4 separate regions of the Homo sapiens genome follow, and regions 2, 3 and 4 are each linked to region 1. The links are contacts of gene promoters, found by promoter capture Hi-C in blood cells and fetal thymus (Javierre and others, 2016). All regions are on one chromosome and are shown on one strand. Each heading gives the region's core, a stretch centred on a gene start or on the middle of the fragment in contact. The rest is flanking DNA. Distances are from core to core; before and after follow the strand shown.

Region 1 (2,664 bases), core at 111-2,610:
CATGAAGTATGGAATTTTAAACATCAGTTTACTATGCTGATTAAGTCAACATTTATATTTTCATCAGAACTTAATAATCCCATAAATAAATAGAGCTCTCAGTTATTTAAAAAAATCAAGGGATAACATATGTATTTAGACATATTAGCAGCGTAAAGATGTATGCTTCAACACACTTATTGGGGAAACGTCTGAAAATATTACTACACTGAATTCAAGGGTATCCAAAGGAACCTGACATAGAAGTTCTCTAGAATAACATCATTTCAGGGAATTTCAAAAAAGAAAAGGGGTCAAATAGGAAATAGCCTCAAATTAATTGACAAAGTTCAGTGTTTGCCCCAACTAGATTATTCTCTCTCTCCACTGCAAAAAGAAAGTCTCAGGATGAGTGAATCACTTAGACGAAAGTTCATCTAGTGGAATAAATGGAGAAGCCGCTTGGGCAGGTGACACAGGAGAGTCGGTGGTAGTGCTGACTTTCGCTGGTGAGTTACAAGAAGATCCGGCACTGCTGCTGTTTCCATCAAGGGTATCCGAAGATACACACACACCAGGATCTGACAGCTGTGCAACGTCAGAAGAAAGCATGTTGGTGATGCCCTGGAAAAATCTCTTTGGCTGATATTCAGTTTCCATTTCACATTTTCTTTTCAATGGTCCAAGAACACTTGGTCTAATGCAATTGATGGGGCTCTGGCTTCTCCGGGTGGTAAATCGGGTCGTTGGGCTGGGAATAGGGCTTGGAGGCAATCCGTTGCTACTTACAAAACTTTGCAAGGATGGCGAAAAACACTGCTTCCCAATTCCCCGAGTGGGTGACGGTGCTGGTGACACAGGAATGAAATCGATGCGCTTGGGGGAGGCGGATTTCTCCACGTCGTTGTCACTCAGGCTGAAACTTTCCTCCCAGGAGTGGCTTATCTGCATTGCGGTCTGCACCTCCCGTTCGTGGACCGTCTCTCGGTTGATCAAGTCCATGCCCTCTTCTTGTTTGATCTGGTGCAAGCGGCTGCTGTGCATGCGGACAGGGGAGGCCGGCAGCAGCAGGCCGTGGCGGCTCGGGAACGTTGTGCTGTTCCGCCTGGCGCTCGGCGCCTCGGCCTGGAACACCGGCGAAGTGTCACTGAGGCCGTGGATCAGGGGGGCGCTGTTAGACCTCCTGAGGCCCCCGCCGCCGCCGCTGCCACCGCCCTCCGCCGGGCTCCCGCCCGTACCCGGAGGCAGCTCCAGGTCTAGCTCCATCTTCTCCTGAGCCATGTCGGGGGCAGGGAGGCGGGGGAGGTGCTCAGTCAGGGACCTAGGATTCCCATTCCCCGCAGTCCAGGGCCGCCGCCGCTGCCGCCGCCACCGAGAATCTGTCAGCGGGCTGGCCCCTCTGCGCATGCGTAGCCCTTCGCGCAGGCGCTCGCGATGTCCGTACTCGCGGCGCCTGCTTAATGCGTAATATGTGCGCGGCAGTGGTAGGGGAGGGGCGAGGAGTGGTCGGGCCGCTAGTCCGTATATTCCTTCGGCAAATAGCTATTGAGCGCAAGCTCGCGTTGACGCATGTCAATAAGATTGTCATATTCTGGATTGCATACTCATAAAACAAAGCCCTGAAAGAGAGGCCCATGGTGATGTGGGGCTGTATGACGTGGAGTGGCGCTTGGCCTAATCAGGGAGGGCTTCCTCGAGGAAGGAACAATCTCCTGAAATCTGAAGAAGTGGGCGAAATGGGTGCGATGTAGAACTTTGCAGGAAGCGGGAAGCAACGGCTACCCAGCCAGTTGGCAGGCGGGAACCAGGAGGGGAGGAGAAAGTGTGGCCTGGAGTGGAGAGTGAGGGCTGGCCTGACGTGAGGTGGTGGACCAGACCACATTCTGGTCTTTATCTTGAGAACAATGAAAACTTAAAGGGTTTTCAAGCATGGGTGTAACAGCAACTGAAAAGCTCACTGGCCTGCAGTCTGGAGAATACATATTGGGAGATTAAAACCTTACAGAAAAAAGGCCAGAGAGGATGGTCATTTGCACTAAGGTGACAGTGTGGCAGTGGAGATGGAGAGAAAAGTAAATCTGAGAACTATTTAGGTTAGGGGAAGAAGCCAAAACAGAGGATGGTATTGCTATTGATTTACAGTCATAGTTCCAGCACAAGCATATGTGTGAAGTATGAAGGATTAAACCAGTAGGTCCTCACATTTTAAAAATGAAACCACAATTCTTGGCTCATGTAATTAATATAAAACCTTGATATCTCATTAAAAGTGAGTTTATTTGTTCATTTATTCAGTCAGTCAAGGTTTTTTTTTTTCAGCATACTTACTATGTGCCAAACACTGCTAGGAAATGGGCCCTAGTATGAACTTTTAATTCTTACTGAGGGGAAAATAGAGAAACGCAGGCTATTTTCAGATAGTGGTAAGCCTTAGGAAAAGTAAGATGGTGTGATGGAGCACTACTGATAGAAGTCAGGGGACAATTAGAGTTGAGATCTAAATGACAAGAAGCAGTAAGTCACGTGGACATCTGGGGAATGAGTATTCCAAGCAGAGAGAATAGCAAGTGCTAAGGCCGGAGGCAGCCATGAGTTTGATGAGTTAGCAGAAAAAGAAAAAAGGGCAGTGCCGCTGAAGCATAAGAGCGGGAGTGTTAGGAGAGGGTAAGAGTTGGATCTCATTCT
Region 2 (2,664 bases), core at 64-2,563, 420 kb before region 1:
CTTATGCCATGTCAGATGCTGCCAGGGGATATGTGCCAAACTCGTTTCCTCACAGGGAGGATTTTAGCAGAGAAAGCAGACAAGAGTCAATATATATCATCATCTCAGGTAGTAATAAGTGCCATGGGATGGCAGACTGGGAAGAATTAATCCTAGGAAAATCTGAACAGCTCTCCAGATTGCTGCGGGAACAGCAAATGCAAAGGCCCTGGGGTGGGAAACAAGCTTAGTACATTTAGGAAAGAGAAAAGGTGACATGGGCTGGAGCAGGGTGAGTGGTGGGGTTATAGCAACTACATAAAATGTGAAGCGAGGCCAGCCCCCATGGTGGCTCAAGCCTATAATCCCAGCACTTTAAGAGGCTGAAGTGGGAGCATCAGTTGAGCCCAGGAGTTCAAGACTGGGCTAGGCAACAAAGCAAGATCCTATCTCTACAAAAAGAAAAATGTTAAAATCTAGCCAGGTGCAGTGGCATGTGCCTATAGTCCTAGCTGCTCAGGACACTGAGGCAGGAGGATCACTTGAGCACAGGAGTTGGAGGCTACAGTGAGCTATGATCATGCCACCACACTCCAGCCTTGGCAATACAGTGAGATCCTGTGTCTAGAAAAAAAGGTGTAAAAAACCACAAAACAGTGTAATTGATGGCACAGGCGGGTTGTTAACTGAGGATGAGAGGCCTGGGGTGGAGGGAGGTATGTCCCAACCACAGGGAGGCTCCCTCTCCCACAGCTCCATGCTGAAGGATGACTAACTGGTCAGGTGGGTGGGCATTCTGCATAGAGGGAACAGCCCGTTCAGAGCCAGGAGGGGTAACCTGCAAGGGTGTTCAAGACATTGCGAGTACTCAGTGCGGCCGGGCAGTAAACTGTTTAATAACACACACAGGATTTCACGTTCTCAGCAGGGACAGACATGTCAAAACAGCTTAATCTATGGCTTGGGAGCCTTAAAATGCATATTCACCTCAGAAATGGGAGACAAGGTAAGTGTGAAAACTGGAGAGGAAGGAAGTCATTAACATTTGGCAGGGCACCACACCCAGTACTAAATATACAATTTTTCCCTGAATGCCCACAACCCTGTGAGTTAGCACCACCATCCCCATTTTACAAATAGGGAAGCTGAGGCCAGAGAGTGTACACAGCCCACCACTGTCAGAGATGGGATCCGAGCTGCTGCCTGACTCCAGACCCTCGTCTCCATGAACAATGTCATGCGTGCTTTCCACATGCTGAGTCCTTAATACATGTTACTGGATAGCTGGAAAGAAGGAAAGGAGGGAGAAAGGAAAGAAAGGAAGGAAAGACAAAGTAAGACAGAGGGAGCACTAAATGAAATCAGCCAGGTTCTCAGTAGCTCCAAACAGCAGATGTGAAACTTCGGGAGGACACCATCCAATAAATGGGCCAATGGTTTTCTGCATGATGTTTCCCTCTGGTGCGTGCGTACGTGCATGCGTGTGTGTGTGTGTATGTCTGAGACAGGATCTTGTTCTGTCGCCCAGGCTGGAGTGCAGTGGCACAATCAGGGCTCACTGCAGCCTCAACCTCCTGGGCTCAAGCGGTCCTCCTGCCTCAGCCCCGGAGTAGCTGGGACTTAAAGGCACATGCCACCACACCTGGCTAATTTTTTTTAATTTTAGTAGAGACAAGGTCTCGCTATGTTGCCCAGGCTGGTCTCGAACTCCTGAGACTCTTCCTGCCTTGGCTTCCCAAAGTGCTGGGATTACAGATGTGAGCCACCACGTTCAGCCCCCTCTGGTATTATGTTGTGTCTGCTATGTCATTTTACAAACGAACTCAAATCCTTAGAAAGGGATAGTGTAAAGAAACAGCTAGCTGGCCTAGGCTGGTAGGTAAACCTACCTCCAGATGAAAAGAGGACTTTTATAGTTCCCCACCTGCCCCCAGGAAATTGGTTTTAACTATTGTGAAGAATTTAGTCAAAATTCTGCTTACTGGACAAAACTTTGAAACAGCTGTCTAATAACAAAACAGGAAATGCTTTTTCCCAGAGAAGGCAGAAAATGAGTTCAACTCTTGTTCTTCCAAAAACGAATAATTTTTAACATTATAAACCAAGTCCTTTTGGCTTCAGGGCACTTACCTGTGGTCTATTCAAACTTAAACCCCTCTTGGTAGCAATAAACTAGTTGCCACCGCATCCAACAATACTTTCTGTAGCGTTTGTTTTACAAACAAAACCCTTTCATCGTTTATTCCACAAGTATTTCAGTTTCACATGTGATTTCACCAGCTCCTTACCCTCCCTTCACAATGCACTGAGTGCCGGCAGTGGATGATTAAATCTAGTGTATGCGATGTGCTCACAGCACACACTTCACAATGGACACAGCTTGCTTATGACCAAGTTTAACAGCAAAAAGCAATAAGCTTAGAGAGGGGTTTGTGATAGGTCACCAGAATCAACACAACTAGATCCCAGACCTACTACTGAAGAGTGCCAGGTTTACTGAGTTGTGTTTTTTAACCACATTCTCCTTTATTTACCTAAGGTAAATTTTTTAGCGTGCATTTAAATAGATAATAAAGAATTGAGAAAGGTGGCCGGGCATGGTGGCTCACGCCTGTAATCCCAGCACCTTGGGAGGCCAAGGCGGGCAGATGACCTGAGGTCAGGAGATCAAGACCAGCCTGGCCA
Region 3 (2,664 bases), core at 75-2,574, 280 kb after region 1:
ACGCTAAATTTCCTTGTCTATAAAAGGTGCTTTTTCTTTACCCCAATTAACAAACCACTCAACAGTCAAGAGAGGACAGTTGTTTGGGAAATGCTGGTCTAAACGGATTACAAATAGATGCGAGAGAGCAATTTTTCTGTTTCAAACACTGTAATGAACGAATTAAACTTGCTTGGAGTTGCCCTGAGCTTGTCCTCCAGCTGAAATTATCATGTACCTTTCCAGGAGGTAAAATAGCCCCACTAAAGGCCCATGGAGCTCTCTAAATTTGCCAGGAGCTGCGAGACACACTGCTGGGAGCACAGCTGTTTCTGTACCTGTGGCTCCTGGTCATGGCCGCTGGGATCCCTCTCGTAGCTCTCTGCGTACAGTCTGAGGGTGGCCCGCACACCACTGGAGGAACTGAGCCGGAAGATGAGCCGTGATGCATCCGAGAAAATGATCCTTAGGCCCTGAGACCAAGAACATCCAGAATGGAGCAGTGAGCAAATGAATACACAAGTAATAATCATTAATACCTGCCACAGAAATCAGCATGTTTTTATACCTCAACACAATCAGAATCAAGACCATTTATATTGGCTCTGGATACAGGGCATGTAATGAATGTGATGAACCTACTTAGAGTTACCCATTTGTCTCTTTATTCTATTTCCGTTGCTTTGTGGTTAATGTGGGGAAAGAGGAGCAAAGCTGTGAACAGATACTCAAGTTCTCTTGGGCTGGTGATATGGGAATCAGAAAGAAGTGGAAGTCACAGGGATGAAATGATATTCAATAAATATTCCTAGGGCCAAAGTTTGTCCCTTGTAAATCTGTGGATTAAGTGAAAGCAGGCAATTTGTCTATTACAGTAAGACGGATTGCCCACATTAAGGTTACCCCAGCATGAGGTTAGGCTGCAGGTTCCTCTGCTGGCAAGGGAATGCTCCAGTGAAGTGCCCAGGGCTGGAGCCTCAGCTAGGCTCTGGGGGTAGCCAAGTACACTGCCATCCTCTTGGCTCTGTCTTTTCTTCTGTCAATCGAGAAAAATGACAAGTCTCAATTATTTTAGGAGGTTTATTTGCCAAAGTTAAGGATGCACACCTAGGAGACAGGTCTATGCCTTTCTCCAAAGATGATTTTGAAGGCTCCAAATTTAAAGGGGAAAGGGCAGGATATTGAGAAGTACACAATTTTCATGTAAGAGGTGGGTAGGGAAAAACAGTCATTCATGCCTTTGTCTGGCTCAGTGAATCTGCATTTTTTTTTAACATAAGATGACACAGACAAATGAGGCAGAGGAAAATTGCAGGGAATCTGCATTTTATATAAGATAACAGACAAAACTGGGCCAGGGGAACAATCAGATATGCATTTGTGTCTGGTGGGCCAGGGGTGACTGCATCTATAAACTATCAATTTATATTGCCATGGTGAAATTTTAATAGAAACACCTTTAGTGTAAAGATCTAGCAGCTCACTGGGAATTCCCTTGTGGGCAAAATATGGGGGAGGCATGTAGCTTTTCATCTTGTAGCCATCTTATTTAGGAACCAAAAGGGGGAGGCATGTTTGCGTGACCCAGTTCCCAGCTTGAATTTTCCCTGTGGCTTAATGAGTTTGGGGGTCCCAAGATTGAATTTCCTTTCACACTTCTTACCTGACTTCTTTTTTGGCCTGACCACCAGAGTGGGGTGGGGCCAGAGCTGTGGCCACATCTACTAGTGCTGCCTAGGATTAATTCCTCATTGGCTCAGCACATCTCCATTCGCTATGTATCTCTTCTCAGTAGAGGCAGGGATATTGTAAAATTATGACCATAAGATGATACTGTGACTTCTGTTGAAGGAAATGTGTTCTCCTAAGACAACTGATAAGGTAACTCTTGTAAATAAGCATATTGGCAGGGGCCAGGGGAAGGAAGAGGAGGCAACAAAATAATATATCTGGTGATTTGTTATTTTGGAAAACTTCTATGTCTCAGGAGACATTGATATCAGGCATTCTCCCAAAGCAATTTATCCTTGAAATTTCTCTGGCCTCAAGTCCTGTTTAAGAATAAGCCATTAGTAAAAATATATATACCTGCTGCATATGTGACTGCAATTATTTACCCCCACCCCCATCTGGTGATATCTGCTGGGAGACACTATGGTTCCATCTGAGTGTCTTTATGCTTTTTTCAAGTTGTGTAGGCTTTTTTGTTTCAATCCCCAAATAAATAGCTTTAGTTTCTTTTGGAGTGGTTCAATGTCTGCCACAATTTGTGTAACCAAAGGGAGCTATCTCCCCTACTGGCAACCAATCACTCTGTAATACTGGCTTTGCAGACAGGATGATATTATCCAGGATTTATTCACTGGGCAAACATTTTAGTGTGGCCCTTATGGATTAGGCACTGTGCTAAATCCTGGGTATATGAATATAAAGACACAATAGTTGTCCTCCTTAAGCCTGGAGTAATTTTTTACAACGAACAGAAACTGTCTTCTTAACCACCTTATGCTGCTGGAGAAGTGAATAGTTACAAAATTCCAAATGGAGCAAGTGAAGCAATTACTGACTGTCTACAAATCACTGTATTTCAAGTTACGTTCAAACCTACAATAAATCCCCAAAAGTCTCACAATTATATTGATATTCACAGCCTTGTTTTTACAAACTCTTTTGAAGCTGTTACCT
Region 4 (2,664 bases), core at 53-2,552, 260 kb after region 1:
TTTATCTATACCTTTATTTTCTTCCAATATATTCAAGGATCTTACCTTAACTACAATTATGCTCATGGTGTTTAGTTACTGTGGTTGTATAATTTAATTCTCCATATTAATTAATATACATATTTCAGCAATTATTAATATTTTATACAGCCAATGTTCATTTATACCAACTCCTATTTTTAACATTTCTTTTATTCCTTGCTGCATTTTATTCCAAATATCTATCTGGGATAATTTTCCTTCTTCCTGAAGAATATCCTTGAGAATTTCTTTTTGTGTAGATACTCTCTCAGCTTTTGTTTATCTGAAGATGTGTTTATTTCGCTTTCATTTTAGAAGGAAAGTTTCACTAGATTAAGAGTTCTAAGCCATCAGTCTCCTTATTTTTAGTGTTGATAAAGAAAAATTAGTTGTCAATCAAACTATTCTTTGCCTTTGATTTTCTGCAATTTTAGCCTGATGTGTCTAGATGTGAATTTATTTTTATATATCCTGCTTGGCTTTCTAGAATCAGTGGGCTGACCTCCTTCATTGGTTCTGGGAAATCTTCACCTATCATTTTTTCCAGTGTTGCCTATACCCAAGTTTCTGTCTCCTCTTTTGAGACTCCAACTAAATTATGTTAGCACTTCTCACTGTATCCTTTGTGTCTCTTACCCTCTATTCTGTATTTTTCCGAATATGATCTTTCATCTTCCAAAGGCAGCAATCTTATATTCTTTGTTCTGCAAATCATAAGGACTAAACTGAAAAATCAGATGCATAGTTTCTTCTGAAATATTTTAAGTTCACTGATATTCTTCAGCTGCTGTTAAATCCATTTATGTTCTTAATTTTGGTTATCTTTCTCAGCTCTTTAATTTCAACATCTTGGTGTATTTTTATAGTTTTCAGTTATTTGCTGATGTTTTTACATTCAGTGCTTTATTTCCATGAACATAGTGAAAATAACTATTTTACAGTGTGTATTGAATAAATTCCAGTATCTATAGATCTTTTTCTGTGGTATGTTGTTTCTGTTGATTCTGGTATGTGTTGCTTTGTGTATCCAAGTGCTTTATAATCTTTTATTGTTTGGTGCCCATTTTGTTTGAAAAATTGCTTATAGAAATAACTGGAGACCTAGAATATTGTTAGTTTCCTTCATTTCCTTTCATGAGACTCCTCAGGGAGCCAGAAGATCAGAGCCATGGATTTATAATCCTCTGGAGTACAGTCTGTATACCACCTTTGGAATGGTCTTCTTCAAGTTTACACCCTAGAGCAGGGATTGTTAAGCCAGGATCTCTGCCTTTGATGTGTACTTAACTAACCATATTTCTTTTGGCCACACGAAAATGCCACACAGGTCTGCCTCTTTGCTGCCTCTTTGGTTAGTCTCCTGGTTAGCAGAGGCAGACTGTAATAGACCAGATCCTCCTCCACCTGGACCTGATGCCGGTCACCTTTACCCTGTGCCAGTCATCAAAAGCACCTCTTCTTTAGTACCTCTCCTAGATGGACAAATTCCCTAGGACAGAAAGAGCTTTGGCTCATTTTCCTGAGTGCCAACCCTTTTCCTGTTCTTGTTACTGTTTTATTAGGTCATTGGTCAACCATGCTTTTAATAAGATGCTTTAATATATTTCTTTCAGCTCTTTACAGAGGGAAGGTTAGTTTGAATCACCTAGTCCACCACTACTAAAAGTTAGAAGTCCTTCATATGGGATTTGTGTTGTTTTGTAATCATTTTCCTGCCAATATTTAAAAATCAAATTTCATTTGAAAGTCCAGATATCTTGCTCCTTTTAAAATCAGAAAACCTGGCAACCTTGAGCTCACATATTAACAATGCAATAATTAAAGACAGCTGAGCATCACCAGAGTGCCCACCATGCTCTATTGTCTTAAATTGGCCCCAATCTAGGACTTACTGCCTGTGTTGGTGGGTGACTGAATTTGCTACCACTGAACAAGCAATAGTACACTAGAGGCAGTGAAATAATTTTAATATTAATAAGTATAAATTTTACCTGGATAGTTACATATCCAGGAATCTGGGGCATTCTAATTTAAATTTTCTCTTTTTCTGAAATAGAGATTTTTGTATTATGAGGGCCTTGAAGACTACTGCGGAGGGCTGGCAGATTTGCGTAAGAGCCCAGCAACCATTTGGGGAGTAAAGGTACTGCAGTCCTCCCCGTCCCCTATTATGCCTATGCCCTGAGATGCAAACTCTCAGCATGGACTCAACTGCTCATGACTACAACACAGAACTAGGCTAGGCGCAGTGGCTCAGGCCTGTAATCCCAGCATTTTGGTAGGCCGAGGCGGGCAGATCACCTGAAGTCGGGAATTTGAGGCCAGTCTGACCAATATGGAGAAACCCCGTCTCTATTTAAAAAAAAAAAAAAAGACAAAAAATTAGCCGGGCGTGGTGGTGCATGCCTGTAGTCCCGGCTTCTCAGGAAGCTGAGGCAGGAGAATTGTTTGAACCCAGGAGGCGGAGGTTGCAGTGAGCCGAGACCGCGCCATTGCACTCCAGCCTGGGCAACAAGAGCGAAACTCTGTCTCAAAACAAAAAACAAAAAACAAAACAAAACAAAAAAACAGAACTATATAAACATGAAATCCAGGAACTGTCTCCACTCAACCCAGCCCTCCTAGGAGCACACTAGAGCTGGC

What was found. The method cuts DNA at HindIII sites, captures the fragments that hold promoters and counts their contacts. A CHiCAGO score of 5 or more calls a contact.
Region 2: a contact is called between a fragment that was not itself captured here and the fragment with the promoter of PABIR1 in region 1, in 1 of 17 cell types (activated CD4 T cells). The highest score is 5.7, in activated CD4 T cells.
Region 3: a contact is called between a fragment that was not itself captured here and the fragment with the promoter of PABIR1 in region 1, in 2 of 17 cell types (neutrophils and total B cells). The highest score is 9.6, in neutrophils.
Region 4: a fragment that was not itself captured here is called in contact with the fragment with the promoter of PABIR1 in region 1 in 2 of 17 cell types (naive B cells and neutrophils); the score reaches 6.5 in naive B cells.

The regions. Positions count from the first base shown.
Region 1 is chr9:68,778,761-68,781,424 of GRCh38, reverse strand. PABIR1 (PP2A Aalpha (PPP2R1A) and B55A (PPP2R2A) interacting phosphatase regulator 1) reads right to left here and starts at 1,360. Exons shown (of 1, transcript NM_138333.5): 1 at 1-1,360. The coding sequence starts at 1,260. The coding sequence ends at 397. All of the region lies in intron 2 of PIP5K1B (phosphatidylinositol-4-phosphate 5-kinase type 1 beta), which reads right to left. RefSeq lists silencers at 1,100-1,339, 1,457-1,871 and an enhancer at 624-1,452. The HindIII fragment of the contact is 10,001 bases long and covers 1-2,664 here.
Region 2 is chr9:69,198,346-69,201,009 of GRCh38, reverse strand. All of the region lies in intron 1 of TJP2 (tight junction protein 2), which reads right to left. Among named protein-coding and RNA genes, the nearest start is that of TJP2, 25 kb to the right of the region's middle. The HindIII fragment of the contact is 2,171 bases long and covers 228-2,398 here.
Region 3 is chr9:68,497,015-68,499,678 of GRCh38, reverse strand. PGM5 (phosphoglucomutase 5) reads right to left here. Exons shown (of 11, transcript NM_021965.4): 10 at 318-452. It overlaps LOC124902174 (a long non-coding RNA gene), which reads left to right. Exons shown (of 2, transcript XR_007061565.1): 2 at 226-798. Among named protein-coding and RNA genes, the nearest start is that of TMEM252, 43 kb to the left of the region's middle. The HindIII fragment of the contact is 7,679 bases long and covers 1-2,664 here.
Region 4 is chr9:68,516,778-68,519,441 of GRCh38, reverse strand. All of the region lies in intron 10 of PGM5 (phosphoglucomutase 5), which reads right to left. Among named protein-coding and RNA genes, the nearest start is that of TMEM252, 23 kb to the left of the region's middle. The HindIII fragment of the contact is 5,042 bases long and covers 1-2,664 here.